Regions from separate parts of the Homo sapiens genome. Here region 2 is linked to region 1. The links are contacts of gene promoters, found by promoter capture Hi-C in human tissues and cell types (Jung and others, 2019). All regions are on one chromosome and are shown on one strand. Each heading gives the region's core, a stretch centred on a gene start or on the middle of the fragment in contact. The rest is flanking DNA. Distances are from core to core; before and after follow the strand shown.

Evidence for each region. The method cuts DNA at HindIII sites, captures the fragments that hold promoters and counts their contacts. A contact is called where the count stands out against the background at its distance.
Region 2: a fragment that was not itself captured here is called in contact with the fragment with the promoter of LRGUK in region 1 in 1 of the 25 tissues and cell types used here (dorsolateral prefrontal cortex).

The regions. Positions count from the first base shown.
Region 1 is chr7:134,126,021-134,128,589 of GRCh38, forward strand. LRGUK (leucine rich repeats and guanylate kinase domain containing) reads left to right here and starts at 1,320. Exons shown (of 20, transcript NM_144648.3): 1 at 1,320-1,644. The coding sequence starts at 1,348. RefSeq lists enhancers at 1,173-1,222, 1,333-1,602. The HindIII fragment of the contact is 8,230 bases long and covers 1-2,569 here.
Region 2 is chr7:133,838,389-133,844,825 of GRCh38, forward strand. All of the region lies in intron 11 of EXOC4 (exocyst complex component 4), which reads left to right. Among named protein-coding and RNA genes, the nearest start is that of LRGUK, 290 kb to the right of the region's middle. The HindIII fragment of the contact is 6,032 bases long and covers 765-6,437 here.

The DNA of each region.
Region 1 (2,569 bases), core at 70-2,569:
AAAACGATCGAGATTTGCATTTTTACACTTTCTGCCTGATTCTTCCCTATGTCACTTAGCCGAAGCCAGGCCCTACGAGGGTAAGGGTGGGGAAAATTCCCTTGGAGGAATCTCTACTTATTGGAAAAAGAAATAAGCAAAAAGCAAGATGAGCCTGGCAGAAAGAGATATTTTGCTTGTGGCCTTTACATTTATGACTAGCAAGATAATGAAGGAAGGTAATTCTGAAAGCTTTATGTCAGTTTTAACGGTCCCTCAAGCACTGAGAAAGATAATCGTCAATGGATGGTGTCCATAAGGATTTTTTCTCCTTCTCCCCTGACAGCCATTGACAGGATCATTTTGTATTTGCAACTGCTGTCATTGAAGCGTGCAGAAAAGGCCCTGTAAGGCCAGAAGGATGAGGGCTACTTCCCTGCAAGGATCTCTATTGTCATCACTATGGCAATAATAGTTACTATAATTTTCATTCTGCTTTTCTATAGAGTGTCGACGTTGTGGAGCTTAAGGCTATGGGATTTGGGTCACATAAAATCACACTAGCATAAAATCGTGCTTTGTTATCTTGAAAGAGTATTTTTTTTAACTGCAAAGAGAGCCTGTGCAACAAGATTAAAATAATTGCCAATGCAGGTCACTTGACTAATATAATTATTTATGGGATGCTAATAGCTTTTCAGACGCTTTCAGATACAGTGTCAATTTGACAGCAGTTTTTTCTCTCTCTGTTTGGATTGTAAGACCACTGCCAGTTTTTCTCCCCAAGGACAAGGCTTATCATTGGGGGGTGGGGGTGGGGAATGTAAATTAATTGGAAATCAGCTCTCAGGCGTCGTCTGGTAGTTTCTCTTTATTATCTGCAATTAAATCATAAGGACAGGAACCATGCCTTCTATTTCACTTATATGCACCCTCATCTCCTAGCGTCGCGCTTTGCATAAATTTCAGTGGTACTAGCTTTCCTACAGACTGCTTTAGAGACATTAGACACTTCTAAAGTACGACTCTGCGGAAAGAGCCCTTTGGGAATGAAGCGGCAACGGTGGCGCACCTGCGATCCTATCGTGGGATGACAAAGCTCTAAGAGGGGTCTCAGGGTAGGGAGGAAACAGCTGGAGACAAAGAAAGGGGGTGTAGCGAAAAGAGGTGAAAACAGGAAAGATAAGCGAACAGAACAGACCAAAGAGAGAAAAATAACAGAAGAGACTGAGAAAAAGAAAAGTCAAGTGGAGCGCCCACTGCCCCGCCTGCAGAAGGCGAGTACGCGCGGAGGAGACTACAGGCCCCAGAATCCTCCGCGGTTCCCCTTGCCTGGGGTCAGTCTCCTAGGCAACCCCGCTAAACAAGATGGCGACCTCCGAGAGGGCTCTCCTGAGGACCAGAGCTGCCTCTCTCCTGAGAGGCTTGGGCAGATCCCGAACTGGAGCCCGATCGTTACAGTTTCGCGCAGAAAAAGAGCGTCAGCCTTGCTGGTCTTTTCCCATGGGGCAGAAGACGAAAGGCAGCTCTAACATAGCCTCCTCCTACCTGCTCCAGCAGCTCATGCACCGCTATCAGGAGCTGGACTCGGACGGAGATGAGGACCAGGGCGAGGGCGAGGCGGGATCCGAGGAGTCCTCAGAGTCCGAAATGCTGAATTTGGAGGTGTGTCTTCCCCCCCACCCCGTACTCCCTGGCTCCCTCGTCCAGCCCTGTTACTTCAGCGGCAGCTCCCCGATGCACCCCCACCAGCCCGAAGCTTCCCACACCTTCTCAGGCTCTCTCGCCTCCAGGAACGCCTCTTCCCCCTCTTTTCTTCCCCTGTCTTTTACCCCGTTTTCTCACCCCCTGCCTGAAATAGCTCTAAATAGTTCCTTTCTTTTTTCATTAACACATTTGATTTCTTATGAGTCGAGTTAACACAGCGTCACTTTGTAAGAGTGTCTAGATAATTGTCTGGGAATTATGGCTTTAGCTTTTTCAAAATTATACTTTGACAGTATTGTGAATAGGCAGAGTTCATCTCTGACATTGCCAGCACCTGTTGCCCATGGCTATGACATACTTCCACACTCTTCCTCAGTTCTAGTCCCGTCAGCCTCCCTCCAGGAAAAAAAAAAAAAAAAAAATCCGCTTTTGAAAGTGCTTCTTCAAAGACTAAGTGACTTAAAAGTTGAATACATTACTTCTGTCGGGGGCATATGCCTTATACAAGCAACATGCACACACACCAGAAAAGAGCCTTATAATGTTCGAACAGCCAGCTCATTGTGGGAATATTTTAGGATGTGGGGAATGTTCCCATCATCCCACCCATATTGACTGGGATGGCGGCTTCGCGTTTCACATGACTGCCATTCCCTCCTTTCTACAATATCTCTTCTGACCACCACACAATTCCTCTTCTTTCTTATGCTTATTATGGTCCTTTTCCTTTCTTAGTCCATTGTTGTCTTCTTGTCCTTTTCCACTTCTCATCACATCACTTCTTTTCTCTTGGCTTCTAATAAATTGCTTTCTTTCAAAAGCGTAATTTAATTTGCTTCCTTTCTATTTTGTTTATGTTTTTGAGATGGAGTCTGGCTTTGTC
Region 2 (6,437 bases), core at 2,531-5,030, 290 kb before region 1:
TTAATGTGTTCCCTAATTTGTAATCCACTTCCTTTTCTCTCATCTTTATAAAAATCTTTGCAAGCAGCCCTCTTCTCTGCTGCCTAATAATAAAATATTGTGAGTCTAGTAATAATCTCACCCCCTTTTTGGTGAGTTTATTTCTCTTTATACCAGTGCTTCTAAAGTTTTAATATTCACTTTCATCACCAGGCACATCTTAAAATGCACATTCTGATCCAGTCAGTCTGGTTGCAGCCTCATGTTTTGCATTTTGAACAAGCACTCAGGTAATAGCTATGCTGCAAGTCCATGGTACTACTTTACAGTAGCAAGGCTGTAGACCAGGAGTCAGCAAAGTTTTTCTGAATAGAGCCAGAAAGTTAATATTTTCAGCCTTGTGGTTTATATCGTCTCTGTTTGATTGTGCCATCGTAGTATAAGAGCAATCATAGATAATATGTAAATGAATGAGCATGGCTGCATTTCAGTACAATTTTATTTACAAAACAATGTGGCAGCTGGATTTGGCTTGCAGGCTGTAGTTTGCCAACCCCTGCTTAGGCAATGTATTTGAAGTGATTTGTTGTTATTTTTAATGTAAAGGTTGTCATCCATATGTCTACATGGGATTGTTTTATAATGGTGTTAGGCATACATACAATGAGTAGAGTTTCATTCATGGTATACCTAGGTATTATGCAAGAAAAATTTTAAGTCAATTAACAAGATACCTTTTTTCCTCTAGAGAACTTAGAATAAGGTGAGAGGCATAATGGCTTAGCTCTATTGTGGCATAATAGTGCCAGCGTTTTGAAAAATCACTTCTTTGGCAAACAGTCGTTTATACTTGTATATTGCTGTGTGCCTGCCTTTCCCCGAACTCTGACTTTTTCCTGCATATGTGCATTTCTTTTATCCCATCCCTTGCCATATCATTTGGCTCTGATCCTATTTGGATAATGAGATAGTTTGTTGTGCCTGCAATGAAGAAAATGATTTTAAATGTTTTTTAATAAGTTAACAGGAGCAAGTCTTGAAATTACTGTAATGAGATAATGACAGTGTAGCATATTGCTTTGAAGATTGTGCTCTGGTGAAAAATGTATGCTCTTAATAAATTCATTTTCACTGTATTTTCCTCAACAAAGTTGTTTAGCATTTGCCTATTTGCCTACCAGTAATAGGGAAATGGTCATAGGAGTTGGTAGTCAATAAAGAATGAAGACCAAAGTTGATACTCAAGTAAGAATTCTTTTGAGCTTTAAGGTATCAGCCATGGAGGACTTGTACCAAGACCGGAATCCTGTAGTGACAGGTGCTTTATAGGAATATTAAAATCCAGAACCTCAGACCACTATGTTAGTTTCATCTTTTTAATTTGTTCATTACTGCAGATCACATGTATTTCCTTTCTTTGAAGTTCTAAGTATTACACTTGAAAGTTTCTAACAGTTCATGCACTTATTTAGCCAACATGTATCATGTGTATATATTCAATCCATAGCACAGTCTCAGACACTGGGGCAACAGAGGTGAAGGAGACCTGAGTCCTGCCCTCAAGTTTATTAGAGAAGGGCAGATATACTAATAAATCAATGTTATATCTGCCATGATCTACACATGTATATGACACATTGGGAGTTCAGGAGACAGTGGTCAGTTCTACCTTGAAGGTCATTTTAAAAAGATTCCATAAAGAAGATGATGCTTAAGCTGAATCTAGAAAGGTAGATAGATTCCAAATAAAGGAAAAAGTATTAACAAAGATATAGTGGCATACCTTATTGAGGGGAATAGATACATTTTCATATATACCTATAATCGAATCTGATACAGCAGTGAGAGTGAATGGATGTACTGCATGTTATACATAGCTTGCATGAATCTAACAGTGTTGAAAGAAGCAAGACACAAAAGAATATGTAAAATTTGATTCTATTCGTAACAGGCAAAATTAAGCTATATAGTATAGGGATGCATATCTAAGTGGTAAAATCATAAAGGATAGCAACAACAACAAAAATCTATTACAAAGGTTACCTCAGATAGGAAGGGAGAAGATTTTGATTGGGCAGGAGAGCACTTGGGATAATGGAAAGTTTTATTTATTATTTTTTATTGTATTTTATTTATTTATTTATTTATTTATTTTGAGATGGAGTCTCGCTCTGTCCCCCAGGCTGGAGTGCAGTGGCGCAATCTCAGCTCACTGCACGATTCTCCTGCCTCAGCCTCTTGAGTAGCTGGGACTACAGGCACGCTCCACCACACCTGGCTATTTTTTGTATTTTTAGTAGAGACGGAGTTTCACCATGTTGGACAGGATGGTCTCCATCTCCTGGCCTCGCGATCCACCTGCCTCAGCCTCCCAAAGTGCTGGGATTACAGGCGTGAGCCACTACGCCTGGCTGGAAACTTTCATTTCCTTACCAAGTTTGTGGTTCCATTGGGTGTTACCTTTATGATTATTAAGATGTGCATTATTACTATAAACTTTGTCTTAAATGTGTTATGTTGTATTTCACAATAAAAGAGATTTTTTAAAAGACAGTGAGGGCCTGAATAAGGCAGTAGGAAATGGAAGAATGGGTATTGTCATAGGCCATTCGGGCTGCCGTAACAAAATACCACAAAATGGGTAGCTCATAAACAACAGAAACTTAATTCTCACTGTTCTGGAGGTGGGGAAGTCCAAGATCAAAGTGCTGGCAGATTTGGTGTCTGATGAGGGCCTATATTCTCATTCATAGTTGGCTGCCTTTTCTCTGGAACCTCACAGGGCGGAAGGGGTGAGGGATCTCTCTGAGGGCACTAATCCCATTTCATGAGGGCACTAATCCCATTCACAAGGGCTCTGCTTTTATAACCTAATCACCTCCCAAAGTCCCCACCTCCTCATACTGTCACCTTGGGGGTTAGGATTTCAACATATGAATTTGGGAAGTGGTTCATAAACATTCAGTACACTGAAGATGTGAAGGGTGGTAAGCATTAGAATCACCTGGCCACTGATAGGAGCTGGGAAGCCAGAGTCTACCATGGTTCCCAGGTTTTTTAATTTGTTGACTAGGAAGATGGCATGTGCTGAGATGGAGAATATAGTATCCACAATGGGCAAGGCTTTTTCTGCTGCAGCTTTTTTTTCCTTTTAGGTCCATTCTTATTCTACAAAGAGGTTATTTTTCCTGCCTCCTTCCTCAGATAGGTACAAATCAGTACCATTTCCACCACAGTCCTGCCAAGAAAACTACTCAGTTCCCCATCTTTATGTATTTATTTCCAGAAAGTTCTTTTTAAACTGTTATTTTAGGTTCAGGGGTACATGTGCAGGTTTGTTATATAGGTAAATTGCATGTTGCAGGGGTTTGATATACAGATTATTTCATCACCCACATAATAAGCATAGTACCCAATAGGTAGTTTCTCAGTCCTCACCCTCTTCCCACCCACCACCCTCAAGTAGGTCCCGGTGTCTGTTTTTCCCTTCTTTGTGTTCATATGTGCTCCATGTTTAGCTCTCACTTATAAGTGAGAACATGCAGTTTTGATTTTCTGTTTCTGAATGAGGTTGCTTAGGATGATGGCCTCTGGCTCCATCCATGTTGCTGCAAAGAACGTGAGTTCATTCTTTTTTAGTATTCCACGGTGTATATGTACCACATTTTCTTTATCCAGTTTACCATTGATGGACATTTAGGTTGATTCCATGTCTTTGCTATTGTGAACAGTGCTGCAATGCACATATGTTTGCATGTGTCTTTATGTTAGAATGATTTATATTCCTTTGGGTATATACTCAGTAACGGGACTGCTGGGTCAAATGGTAATTCTGTTTTAAGTTCTTTGAGAAATCCTCAAACTGTTTTCCATAATGGAAGAACTATTTTACATTTTCATCAGCAGTGTGTAAGTTTTCCCTTTTCTCCACAACCTCACCAGCATCTGTTATTGACTTTTTAGTAGTAGCCATTCTGACTGATGTGAAATAGTATCTCACTGTGATTTTGATTTGCTTTTCTTTAATGATCAGTTGTGCTTAGCATTTTTTCATATGCTTCTTGGCCACATGTATGTGTACTTTCAAAAAGTATCTGTTCATGTCCTTTGCCCACTTCTTAATGGGGTTGATTATTGCTTGTAAATTTGTTTCAGTTCCTAATAGATGCTAGATATTAGACCTTTGTTGAATGCATAGTTTGAAAATATTTTTCCCATAATGTAGGTTGTCTGTTTACTCTGTTGATAGTTTCTTTTGCTATGCAGAAGCTCTTTAGTTTAATTAGGTTCCATTTATTGATTTTTGTTTTCATTGCAATTGCTTCGTTATGAAATCTTTTCCAGGTCCTATGTCCAGAATGGTATTTCCTAGGTTATTTTCCAGGGTTTTTATAGTTTTAGGTTTTATATTTAAGTCTTTAATCCATCTTGAGTTGATTTTTGTGTATGGTATAAATAACGAAGGGGTCCAGTTTCAATCTAATGCACATGGCTAGCCAGTTATCCCAGCACCATTTATCGAATAGGGAGTCCATTCAATAAATGAACAAATTTCTTCATTGCTCATTTTTGTGGATTTTGTCAGTCAGATGGTTGTAGATGTGCAGCATTATTTCTGCTCTCTAATAGGGCTCTCTATTCTGTTCCATTGATCTGTGTGTCTGTTTTGGTACCAGTACCATGCTGTTTTGGTTACCATAGTCTTGTAGTATAGTTTGAAGTTGGGTATTGTGATGCCTCCAGCTTCGTTCTTTTTGCTTAGGATTGCCTTGACTATTTGGGCTCTTTTTTGGTTTCATATGAATTTTTAAATAGTTTTTTTTTCTAATTCTGTGGAAAACGTCATTGGTAGTTTGATAGGAATAGCACTGAATCTGTAAATTGCTTTGGGCAGTATGGCCCTTTCAACAATATTGTTTTTTCCTATCCATGAGCATGGAATGTTTTTCTATTTGTTATGTCATCTCTGATTTCTTTGTGCAGTGTTTTGTGACTTTCATCGTAGAGATCCTTTACCTCCCTGGTTAGCTGTATTCCTAGTATTGTATTCTTTTTGTGGCTATTGTGAATGGAATTGCATTCTTGATTTGGCTGTCACCTTGGATGTTGTTGGTGTATAGGAATACTACTGATTTTTGTACATTGATTTTGTATCCTGAAACTTTGCCAAAGTTGCTTATCAGATCAAGGAGCTTTTGGGCAGAGACTGGAATTTTCTAGGAATAGAATCATAACATCTGAAAACAGGAATAGTTTGACTTCCTCTCTTCCTATTTGGATGCCTTTTCTTTTTTTTTGTCTGATTGCTGTGTCCAGGACTTCCAGTAATATGTTGAATTGGAGTGGTGAGAGAAGGCGTTCTTTTCTTGCTCCAGTTTTCAAGGGGAAGGCTTCCAGCTTTGCTCATTCAGTATGATGTTGGCTGTGGGTTTGTCATAGATGGTTCATATTATTTTGAGTTATGTTCCTTCAGTGCCTACTTTCTTGAGGGTTTTTAACCTGAAGAGATGTTGAATTTTATGGACAGCCTTTTCTGCATCCATTGAGCTAATCATGTGGTTTTTGTTTTTAGTTCTGTTTATGTGATGAACTCACATTTATTTATTTGTGTATGTTGAACCAATCTTGCATCCCAGGGATAAAGCCTGCTTGATCATGGTGGAGTAGCTTTTTGATGTGCTGCTGGATTCAGTTTGCTAGTATTTTGTTGAGGACCTTGGCATCTATATTTTATTAAGGATATTGGCCTTAAGTTTTTTTGTTGTTGTGTCTCTGCCAGGTTTTGGTATCAGAATGATTCTGGCCTCACAGAATGAGTTAGGGAGGAGTCCCTCCTTCTCAATTTTTTGGAATAGAGTGGTACCGGCTCTTCTTTATACATCTGGTAGAATTCAGCTCTGTCAATTTCTGTCAATTGCCTGTGTTGAAATCCAATGACTACCTCAAACTATTTCTAATCTCTTTTACATTTTTACCCAACCAATTTAATTTCTTGGATTCCCACATATTCCTTTTTTTTTTTTTTTTTTTTTTTTTTTTTTGAGATGGAGTCTTGCTCTGTCGCCAGACTGGAGTACAGTGGCGCGATCTTGGCTCACAGAAACCTCTGCTTCCCAGGTTCAAGGGATTCTCCTGCCTCAGCCTCCCAAGTAGCTGGGACTACAGGCATGCACCACCACACCCAGCTAATTTTTGTATGTTTAGTAGAGACGTGGTTTCACCGTGTTGGCCAGGATGGTCTCGATCTCTTGATCTTGTGATCTGCCTGCCTCGGCCTCACAAAGCTCTGGGATTACAAGCCACACATTCTATTCTTACCAGCTTGACAAATGGAGTACCTACTGCTCATTGTTCTTCTCATTGGCCATACCTCCCTACCATGCTTCTATAGGTAGAACAACATCAAAGTATCATATGCCTCAAACTCAACTCAGGTGTTTGTAACCAAGCTTAGAATC